Linked DNA regions of Homo sapiens: all the other regions are linked to region 4. Evidence: promoter capture Hi-C in 16 types of primary human blood cells and fetal thymus (Javierre and others, 2016). All regions are on one chromosome and are shown on one strand. Each heading gives the region's core, a stretch centred on a gene start or on the middle of the fragment in contact. The rest is flanking DNA. Distances are from core to core; before and after follow the strand shown.

Region 1 (2,700 bases), core at 163-2,662, 640 kb after region 4:
GACCCCACTCCCACAAAGGCAACCATTATTCCAACTTCTATTGCCAGAAATTCATTTTGCTGGTTTTGGAACTTCATATAAATAGAAACATATAGTATAGACTCTTTCAGGTCTTATTACATATGTTTTTGAGCTTCATCCATGCTGTTACCTGTATTGGTAGTTTATTGATTTGTATTGCTAAGTGGAATTCCATTGTATGGATATAGCACAATTTATTTCTCCATCTCATGTTGATGGGGATTTGGTGGTTTCTAGTTTTTTGCTATTTATGCATGAAGCTGCTGTGAATACTCTTGAACATGTCTTTGATGGACATAAACACTCATTTCTGCTGGTTATATGCTAATATTTATAAAACATCAGTGACCCACAGCCCTCCCCATTCGTGATGAATATCTGCTATCTCCCAGGCTTTGACAGACCTCAGCAGAGGTCTTAGCCCTATTAGAGCCATGTCCTCATTAGTAGCCAAGACCTCCCTGGGAAACGTGGCCCTTCCCCCATGCTCGCAGTGGGAGGTAGGCAGAAGCTACATATGCTTACCTCTCCTTCCCAGGTATCTTCTAGACTCTGTAGGGCTCTATTTCTTTAGCAGAATTTGCCTTTGTTTTTAGTGTCCTTCTGACAAACCTACTTCATATGAAGTCAACATGCTCTGAATTTATGAGTATGATTATACCCTATTCTTAGTTCTAGTAATCCTAAGACTTCTTTGGATAACCTCAGGGTATGTCATTTATCTATTGCTGCATGACAAACCACCCTAAAACTTTGTAGTTTAAAACAATAGTGATTTCTTATTTATCATCATGCTTCATGCTGTGGGTCAGGATTTAGGTCAGGGTTTAGCAGGCCAATTCTTCTGCTCTGTGTGGCATTGGCTGGGGTCTCCTACTTAACTTTGTTCAGCTGGTAGCACAGTTGAACTGGAACATCCAAGATGACCTCTCACCCTCCAGGCCCCTCTCCCTGTAGCCTCTAATCATTCAGTAGTCTAGTTCAGACTTCCTTACAGCAAGAGATAGGAAGTGGAAGCTACCAGTCTTCTTAAGCCTTTGACTCAGAAATCTCAGAACATTGTTTCTTCTGCTTTCTGTTAATTAAAGAAAGTCACAAAGCCAGTTCTGATTCAAGGGGAGGGGGAAATAGTCCCCATCTCTTGATGTGAGATCTCTACCATATGGGATAGTATGAAGTTGAAGCTTCAGTCTTTCAGGTCTTCCCTAGGACTTGAAAACTTTTAGTGAATGTCTAGACAGAACCCCAGCTGTCTAACTCTTTGTGTAAATTGTCTCTCTATATACCCTTTTGTTAATAGAGGGGTACATTCTGGGCTTGCAGGTTAGAACCAGGCATAGTCTCACATAAAAAAAGTATTACAGCTAGTCACAATGCAGCAAAATGGCATCTTTTTCTAATCTTACTTTAGGCACAATGTGGATTAAATTAATTTAAGGATCTCTTTCTGCCAAGACAGCATTCATCTTGGGGAAAATGCATTCCAAGGTCCAAATTGCCAAATGGGTTTTGGAAGCCCAGCCAGTTGTTCTTCCTGTTTTGCCTTACTGCAGATTGAGAGGGCCCTCAAAGGTTAGGGAAACCCAAGAGGGAATGAGGAAGCTTGAAAGCTGAGCATTCAGAGGAAAGCTGGAATAGCACAACGCCCTCCTCTTGCCTTCTTGGCTGGAGCTTGTGCAGTGTGGAGTTATCCGCCTGAGGCTTCCAGGGGAAGGAGCTGTAACACAGCATATCTTTACCCCTGGGTCTCACAGTGTACTGACAAGGCTTCCCCAAATCCAAAATCCCCTTTCTTCAGCCTGTTTGAAGGCTTTCTGTGTGGGCTCCCACTGCTGGATGCTGATGACCGTTCTGTACATTCTTTGCAGATGCATGTTTTGGTGTGACCTTGCTCATGTTGATTCTGTAGTTCAGTTGTTTTTGCTAAGTTTCATGATGCAGGTAATTGCAGAAATGAATCTCCTATTAAGTCAGTGAAGATGCTTTCAACTGCAAATTATAGAAAAAACCCAGACTCAGTTCGAGTTAAACCAATGATCCTCCAACTTTAATATATATCAGAATCACCCTATTAAAATACCAACTGCTGGGCCTTACCCCCAGAGTTTCTGATTCAAGAAATCTGGGATGGGGTCCAAGAATGTGCATTATTAACAAGTTTGCAGGTGATGCTAATGCTGAAGGTCTGGGGCCACACACATTTCGAGGACCACTGACTTCATAGGAATGATATTTTATCTCACCTAAAAAGAGGCTTGGAGGTATGTGGTTCCATGATGAGTTAATTCAGTTACTTACGGACCTCACCAAGGATGTTCTTTCCATCTCTTCTCTTTCCTGCTGTCCATGTCTTGGGTCTGTCCTGGTTTCAGGTTGGCTCTGGCAGTTCCAGGTATCCCATCCAGATCCAGATTAAATGACACTGAGAGGAAGAAGTTTGTGGGGCTTTCCCTCTATTGCGTTTAAAAACAACAACAGAGAAACTTTACTTATTACACTTGGATTTGAGGTCATTGGGTTGAGTCAGAACTTCTAGATTATCATGCTCCAGAGTCAAAGCTGCATAGAAGGGGCATCCAAGAGGCAGAAGTGAAGGGGTTCCTTTTGAGCTCTGCCATTTCCACATGGAATTTCTTTTCATTTTTCCGAGTACTTGCTGCTTCCCAAATCTGGGAAGGA
Region 2 (2,700 bases), core at 1-2,500, 520 kb after region 4:
TCCTTTCCCCTAAACAAATGCAGCCATGCCCTTTACAGGCAGGAGGTTTGGTATTGGGCCGCCTGCCACTCTGAGGATGTTCCTCATTGTTTATCTTGGCTTTTCTCCTTCTCAGATCAACAATAAAGCTTGTGGCAAAATTCCTGTGCCCCAACAAGTTGCCCGGGACCAGGACAAAGTCCACGAATTTGTTCTTCAAAGCGAGCTGGGTGTCAGGCTTTTGCAAGGACGAAGCATCAAGAAGTCCTTCCTTTCCCCGAGAACTGCCCTCATCAACTTCCTGGTGCAAGATTGACAGCCAGGAGGCTGCAGCTACCACGAGGGCCTCTGAGGAACCTCCTTCCAGGCCTGGGATGAGGGGGCGATGTCTGCTGGCCCAGGGGAAGGGAAAAGACAAATGTCTTGACTGTTGACCTCGGTCCTGTGGCAGACTGCAGTCAACAGTGTGCCTCTGTAGTGTGGCCTGGTGCTGGGGTGAAGGTGAGCTGGGCAAAGGAGAAATATGAGCTACTGAGGAGGGGGTTGGACATCCTGCCCCTCACCCCCCACCCACACTGCAGGTAGAGGAGGCCATCTGATCCCATGGGAAGCCATCAGAGACACTGCTGGTGGGAGCAGGAAGGAGCAGTGCCCCTCGAGCAGCCAGGAAGCCTGCGGATCTGGGAAATGGCTCTGCCTTAGGCACTTCTCGGGAATTTGAGGCCAGCCTGAGGAACTGCAGGACTCAGGTGCAATGTGCCAGCCACTTGGAACTGCTAACTGAGCCTCCAGATGGTAGTGAATGGTCTCTTTGCCTTCAGGCTGGATGAGGAAGTCATTTAGGAAATGTTCAAATAACCAATATGTGGAAATGGACACAGGGATCTTCTGAAGTTGCTTTGAATCAAAAGGCAGGCAGTGCTGGTTCCTCTGCCTGTGTCCCCACCACTCCCCAGCTCTGTCATGCAGGCCTGTCCTCCCCAACCCCAGCTGGATGTGCCTCCCAGGCCTGCTGTGGTTCTGACACACAGGATCCCAGGCAAGGCACCACTTCCTCACATGAATGAGGAGCAGCAAGTCATAACCACTCCCTTGGGTATACAATTTGCTGTGTAGTGAAGTGGAACCAGGCTCAGGCTGCTGGTCCCAACCTCAGAGCCCCACCGCAGCCCAGTAGGGATGCAGCACGCCCCAGAGGGCTCATGTGGGCCCCAGATGGCAATGCCACCATTGTTGATGTGACTCCAGAGCCAGTTATTAGGAAGAGCAAGCTCACCACAGAGGAGTGGAACTGAGGCCCCCCAGATGTTGCCTCCGGTGTCCAAGCCACAGCGGTCTGGCTGTTGGGAAGATGGCCAGGAATGGACTCATACCATTGGCACATTAGGCTAATCCTGGTTTTATGTGAAGTCAGCAATTAAGTGTTCCCACTAGAACTGACCTAAGCCACTGATTAATATTTAATGAGGGAAGGTAGGGGAGAATCTAGCCATTTTATAATGCCAGAAATCTATATATGTTATCTGATGCCATTTTTCTGAAGTAGCCTCACATGTGGTCCCCCTGCAGTTCAGCAGTTAACAGATGACTTTTTTAGTGTAATAAAATGTTTATCATCTATGACTTCAGGACATATGTGTGATCCTGGAATACACCATATTCCAATTTCAGAGTTAATTACAAACAGATTGAGGTATTCCATCATCATCGGAAGCATTGGCTGTGTGTCTGACTCCACATGGAATGCTATAAAGTGGGATACATGTGGTTCTTCTTGTTCCAGAACTTACAGTCCATGGTAGACAACACTGATACAGGCAAACTAGCAACAGCAATTAAGTCACTGGTTCTCAGACTTAATACTCTGCCTGGTCCTCATGCCCAGATATTCCAATTTAATTGGTCCATGGTGTGGCTTGAACACCAGGAATCTTTAAAACTCCACAAGTGATTCTAATGGGCAGCAAAGTTTGAGAATCACTGGACACATTGATGCACTTGAGCCATCATTTCTATCTAGTTCTTCCTCTTCCTAATCTTCAGGTTAGCGGGGATAAGTTTGGTCCAGGACCAAGAGTTGGACCAAAAGGGAAGACAGGGGCCAGAAGTCTAGAGTGCTAGAGCCGACTTGAATGTACTCAGTCTCATTGCACATGGCAGTGAATATGGATTAAATATAAGCCCATGAAAATATTTGGTACAAGGAAGGAGTGAGTGATTTTGATTATCTTGTTATTTCCTAGTAAGCTAAGTGGTCTTGAACAAGATGAGGGAAGGGAGCCCTTTATTTGCATGTGATCTGACCAGAGCAATGGGCCAGTAAAGCCTCAAGGCTGCTAGACTGACCAGCTGGCTGACACCAGCATGGCTCTGAAGAAATTGCTCCAAGAGGATAAAGCTTTTGCAAACAAGAGCTCATCAGTACATACTAAGAGACAGTATGGGTAATGGAACAACTGGACAGAAAACTCTGACCCCTGGGAGTGAGGTGGTGGGGAATAATCTCAGCCATTTATTGACTGTCTTGTTGAGGTCAGAAACTGGACTCAGCAGGTTCACAATAATTATCTTATTTAATTCCCACAAAAACTCTAGAGGGAAGGAATTATTCTCTCATAAAAGAAGAAACCCAGGCTCTGAGGTTCAATAATTGTCTCAGTTTTCACAGCTAATAAGTAGGAGAACTGGGATCCAAGCCCACATCTTCTGTCCTCCACGTTT
Region 3 (2,700 bases), core at 140-2,639, 660 kb after region 4:
TGGTGGCACACACCTGTAGTCCCAGTTACTTGGGAGGCTGAAGCAGGAGAATTGCTTGAACCCGGGAGGCAGAGACTGCAGTAAGCCGAGATCACGCCACTGCACTCCAGCCTGGGTGACAGAGCGAGACTCCGTCTCAAAATAATAATAATTCAACACAGGGTCTCATTCTGTTGCTCAGGCTGGAGTGCAGTGGCATGGTAACAGCTCACTGCAGCCTCAACCTCCTGGGCTGAGGTGATCCTCCCACCTCAGCCTCCTGAGTAGCTAGGACTATAGGTGCACACCACCACACCTGGCTAATTAAAATTTATTTATTTATTTAGTAAATAGAGATGAGGTCTTGCTATGTTGCCCAGGCTGGTCTCGAACTCCTAAGCAGCATCATTTTTTCTAGGTGTTAAACTGACAACCACCCAAATTCCCAGCATAAGGATTCTGCTTAAAATATCTAGCTCTCTGATGAAATATCTTCAAAGAATATTTAATGACCTTAAATCTCAGACAAAAAGGTAAGGAGACAAAATGAGGAACCCATTTCCGTACAACCCCAATTTGGAAAAACACATGTGCAAGTATGCCCATGTTAAAAAATATAGAAGAAAAAAAGGCTTTAAGGAAAAAAAAAATAATAGTAATGATTTAGGGTGGGAATCGCGTTAATATTCCCAATAATTTTATATATTTTAAAAATCTATAATTTTATCAGGGGAAAACGTTATGTTGCGGAAATTAATTGATCGATTGAGTGATTGGTTAACGGACAGTGTCCGATGACTCATATAATCCCCCGGTTCGAGTCCCTTTAGGCCGCAGACGTTTCGCGCCTTCTCGGGTGTCCAAGTCGCGCATCCATACAATGAGGGGTAATATACTAGATTACCTGAGGTCTTCTTACGGTAAAAACACCGGTGTCTTAAGGTTTCCCAGTGGAATTTGGGGGCCGGGTTGACTTCGGAGCTGGAGCTCGCAAAGGCCGGGGCTGCTGCAGATTCTGACGCTTTGTGGACCCCTACTACCGAGCGCAGCCGCACCGCAGGTTTTCTTCGCTGCTGGTTAGATCCAAAGCCCATCCCATCCTAGTAAACTGGGACAGCGCCGCTTCTCACATCACTATGGGGGCTTCTGCTCCGTGGCGGGGAAAGGCCAGAACTGCTGCCTTAAATACGCTTTTGCATCATCCGGTTGCTAACCTCCGGCCACAGCATTCCCCACTCCAAAATGCCACTTTTCCAGGTGTGTTTGCCTAAATTTACCCCATTTACAGACTTCTCAGGTGCATCATTGGGAACAGGGCGCTTTGCAGTTTGCAAACCACCTCAGACAACTCCAGGTTTAAAGGATAAAGGATGACATTGTGAGCAAAGCGGCATCAAAATTTCAGATATTTAACTTTCACATTCTAACCATACACCTTTCCAAGGTCTTGTAATACTTTCACATTGTGAATATACATCTTTACAAGACCCAGTAGTACATGGGTCAAGTGTGGCAAAACAGACATCGCGAGCCAGCCAGGAGTCGAACCTAGAATCTTCTGATCCGTAGTCAGACGCGTTATCCATTGCGCCACTGGCCCCGACTTGCTAAAGCCTTCTCCGTGATAGCTGATCACCCTTATACAGTTTGAACGGGCTTCCGGGTACCAACGATCCATTTTGCCCTTGCGCCGCGCTCCCGCTGCTCTGCCTTTCCCCAAAACGCGCCCCACCAATCCGCAGCGGCTTCGTCACGGCGCTCTTCGTCGCACTCCAACCCGCCGCGTCGGCGGCATCTCTCGCGTGCTCTTGCTTGCGCACTAATTTGTCCTCCACCGCCTCCCGTTCAGGCCGGCTCTCCTGCGGGGCGGGGAAAGGGGTGGGAAGAGGCTGGGAGCTGCGGCCGCTGTGCCAGGGTGACCGGTAGAGTTGTAGCCGAGGTGGCGGCGCGGGGCGGGGCGGGCGGAGAGAGAAGGAAGGAGGTGGTTGTGCAGGATGGCGACGGCGGCCTACGAGCAGCTGAAGCTGTGAGTCCCACGGGCCAGAGGCCTGAGGCGCGGCGGGCGGGGCGGCAGGTGCGGGCCCTGGCCTCGGGGAGGGCTTCTGAGTCCCGGATTGCAGATAGGGTGTGGGAGCTCCTCGCATTTACCGGTTTTCCTCAGCCGGCGCGGCCTCTCCTAGGCCTCGCCCGAGTAGCCATAGGCCGGGAACCAGCGGCTCGCCGGCCTTTCTCCACCGTGCTCGGCCCCAGCGCCCACGGCTGAAGAGAGAAGCTGCCGACTGGCCCCCACCGAGCCGGGGTCGGCGTTATGATGCGGCCCTTCAGGGCACGCTTGTCCCCACTTTCTATGCAGAGCTACCGACTAAATTTATCTGTATGACTTAACAGAGAAAAAGAGTTTTCTCTTACTTAACGGACCTACAGCAGCAATTTAGAGTCTACGCACAAATCAACAAATCTTTGTTTTGCTTACAGCCTATCTGGGTACCGAAGCCTGCCTGCCCCCTCTTCAGTGTGCAGAAAAAATTTAAAGTACAGTCAGTAGTCTTAAGGTCCTGAAGGAGTTTACTTTGGTTTAAATTTTAAACAGCTCCAGCCTAAAGCAGGTTCTTAAGTCAGTGTCGACAGCCAGAGGCTAATCTCGGTAATTTTGGTACTGCAAATTGACTTTTCGGTAAATCCAAGTTCTTGAGTCTTTGATACAGAGGCTGTGGTTGTTAA
Region 4 (2,700 bases), core at 147-2,646:
CCCTTACTTACTTATATCTGTGTGCACTGGTGGTTTCCCATCTGTTACTGTCACTATGTTGGTGCTCAAATTGTCCCTGATTCTGACCACTGAAGGCTCCTTCAAGCTGGCTCTGTGTCCTACTGACGTGTTCCCATTATTCATTAAGCACTTCCTTGTTTTCTGGCAAAACAACAAGTTCCGGGCTCATTTTCTGCACCCCACTCCTACTTCCCAGTGCTAGAATCAGCCGTTTCTGCAAGGTGCTCTGGTTCCTTTAGTGGAAAGTCATATTCAGAAGCCAGTATTCAGGTGCTAGGAGTGCTCCAGGCTATGCGGGGCTGGCTGCTCCAGGCCCCCCAGTGACTGTGGGGACTAGACACACACACATTTCCATCTATATATATGGACTTATCTTTATGTATTCAAGGCCACAAGGGTACACTGATCATTCCGATTTTAATCCCACACAACAGGATTCATTCCAGTTTTCTCTCCATATACATAACTTCCTTCTCTGACAATAGGAAACCTAACTCCCACTGTCTTCAGTAGATTTATTTGATCAGTATCCCTGTGTGTAACCAATCTCCCGTCTCTGCCACCAGCCTCTCTCCCACATGGATCCCCTCCTTGCCTCACTTGGACTCCAGCACTCCAGGCAGGGCCTTTGCTTTCCCCAGGATGCTCCCTCCACCCTGCTGGGCTCCCACACCCCACACCAGTCCACCCCTTGAGGGCACATTCTCCCCACATCCTCTCTGGTACCTCTGGGGCACGATGGCTTCTCCCTCCGCCACCTTTGCTATGCCCCACTTTGTGGCTTTAGGACAGGACTCAGGAGAAAGGGAAGACAAGAAGGGAAGGAATCCCTTGGATTTTTTAACCAAAAAATGCATCAAGTACATGGAGACAGAGCCACAAAATAATCATAACAAATATTCTAAACCAATCAGACAGCCAGCCCCAGATCACCCTATAAGGGGGCATTGCTACCCCGTGACAGCTGGGTAGCCTGGGCAAATTCCCTAACCTCACCGAGCCTCAATTTCCTCAATGGTAAAATGGGGAAAGGACAGTGCTTCCCTCGTGGTTTGGGTGTGAAGCTTCTGTGAGTTAATGTTAGTGAACAGCCAGCCTCAGCCCCTACCCAAGGTAGCTGCTCCGCAGATGTGATGACAACCACCGTGTGTTTCTCAGAATCCTAGGAAATAAGGGCTTCTTTCTAGAAGGCAGGGCCAGGATGCTGCGTGGGTGTTCCCTGGCAGAGAGGCTCTGTGGCCCTCAGGACTTCATCCTTCTGCAGGCTTGTGTGTTTGTTTTATTTTTTTGGCACGCCTGCAGCCAAGTTGGGGAGGGTTTCCTGGACAGAGGTCCTTTGGCTGCTGCCTTAAGACGTGCAGCCTGGGCCGTGGCTGTCACTGCGTTCGGACCCAGACCCGCTGCAGGCAGCAGCAGCCCCCGCCCGCGCAGCAGCATGGAGCTCTGGGGGGCCTACCTCCTCCTCTGCCTCTTCTCCCTCCTGACCCAGGTCACCACCGAGCCACCAACCCAGAAGCCCAAGAAGATTGTAAATGCCAAGAAAGGTAAGGAGGGGGACAGAGCCCTGTGCCATCTTCCAGGGAGCAGGTCCCCCTCTCCTTAGTGTGTCCTCATGCTCCTTTCCTTCATTTTCCTCCTTTTGAGTCATCTAGGGAACTTGAGTAAAGTGGGCTTTGGGGCTTGGGGGAGTTCTCTCATAGCAGAGTTGGTTGTCAGAATCATAAGAATCCCTGACCCTTAGAGTTGGGAAGAACCTTCCAGATCATCCAAACTGATCTTTGCTCTTCTCTCCTCCCCTCATCCCCAATATTTTAAAGAAACCAAACCTTTGGCCTGGGAGTCTGGCAGCGCTCAGCCCTTACCAGGGAGAGCTGCACAGGCTGGGCTTTGGAGTCTTCCAACCTGTTTTCTCAACTGTAAAATGGGGACAGTGGTATTTGTTCAAAGACTTCTCATGAAGATTTTATGATACAAAATATATAAAGGCACCTCACTTGTTGCTTGATGCACAGGGAAAAGAAAAAGAAGAAGAAATGAATTCTCATTTCTGTAGCATATCACAGCCTTCAGGAAATAAATGTAACTCAGACTAGTCCACCAGAAGCAGCTTTGCTCTGCTTTGTAGCCTCTGGGGATTGGGGTGTCCCTCGGTTGCTTTGGCTACAGCAAGACTTGCCCTTGCAGCCCCGCCTGCAGTGAGGTCACCCCAGGCTGTGTTGAGACAACATCAGTGGAATGTCATGGCAATGGACGGGGCTGTCACCCCCCCAGGGAGCAGAGGCTAGAAGAGAGTCCAAGGGGATGAGGGTGGGGACTGAGGCAGAGAAACAAGCAGCTAGGACCAAGGGCACAGAAAAGGAAAGAAGGGGCTGTGGGGGCCTCCCTTAGGCCCTCCCGGGGCTCTTCATAAATGGACAGTTGCCCACTGGCCAGGAACTAGTGCAGTGCATAAAGGGACATCGGGGCCATGGGGCCTCACAACACTGTGACAAAGAATGGGGCAAATCTGGCTGCTGATAAAAAAATCATCTTCAAGATTCAGTTTACAAAGTGAAAAAAGAAACATTCAAAAGAGAATGAGTATGATGCTGACATTTGCTTTGAAAAAGGGATTTATATAATAATACATTTTTACTTGTATGTGCATAAGTTCTTTCTGGAAGGATCCACAAGAGTGAG

The links. Contacts are between HindIII fragments. The CHiCAGO score rates a contact against its expected background, and 5 or more counts as called.
Region 1: a fragment that was not itself captured here is called in contact with the fragment with the promoter of CLEC3B in region 4 in 1 of 17 cell types (erythroblasts); the score reaches 6.0 in erythroblasts.
Region 2: a fragment that was not itself captured here is called in contact with the fragment with the promoter of CLEC3B in region 4 in 1 of 17 cell types (erythroblasts); the score reaches 5.6 in erythroblasts.
Region 3: a contact is called between the fragment with the promoter of LIMD1-AS1 here and the fragment with the promoter of CLEC3B in region 4, in 2 of 17 cell types (fetal thymus and naive CD4 T cells). The highest score is 5.5, in fetal thymus.

Annotation. Positions count from the first base shown.
Region 1 is chr3:45,669,584-45,672,283 of GRCh38, forward strand. The region is part of intron 4 of LIMD1 (LIM domain containing 1); the gene reads left to right. Among named protein-coding and RNA genes, the nearest start is that of LIMD1-AS1, 18 kb to the right of the region's middle. The HindIII fragment of the contact is 418 bases long and covers 1,204-1,621 here.
Region 2 is chr3:45,547,236-45,549,935 of GRCh38, forward strand. It overlaps LARS2 (leucyl-tRNA synthetase 2, mitochondrial), which reads left to right. Exons shown (of 22, transcript NM_015340.4): 22 at 116-2,172. The coding sequence ends at 295. Among named protein-coding and RNA genes, the nearest start is that of LARS2-AS1, 39 kb to the left of the region's middle. The HindIII fragment of the contact is 2,249 bases long and covers 127-2,375 here.
Region 3 is chr3:45,687,493-45,690,192 of GRCh38, forward strand. It overlaps LIMD1-AS1 (LIMD1 antisense RNA 1), which reads right to left and starts at 1,390. Exons shown (of 3, transcript NR_033947.1): 1 at 884-1,390. SACM1L (SAC1 like phosphatidylinositide phosphatase) reads left to right here and starts at 1,904. Exons shown (of 20, transcript NM_014016.5): 1 at 1,904-2,005. The coding sequence starts at 1,974. TRR-ACG2-1 (tRNA-Arg (anticodon ACG) 2-1) reads right to left here and starts at 1,579; the gene lies at 1,507-1,579. RefSeq lists enhancers at 706-775, 1,286-1,335, 1,596-1,885 and a silencer at 1,916-2,095. The HindIII fragment of the contact is 5,339 bases long and covers 1-2,700 here.
Region 4 is chr3:45,024,907-45,027,606 of GRCh38, forward strand. CLEC3B (C-type lectin domain family 3 member B) reads left to right here and starts at 1,397. Exons shown (of 3, transcript NM_003278.3): 1 at 1,397-1,565. The coding sequence starts at 1,457. RefSeq lists enhancers at 1,777-2,278, 2,279-2,700. The HindIII fragment of the contact is 8,892 bases long and covers 1,084-2,700 here.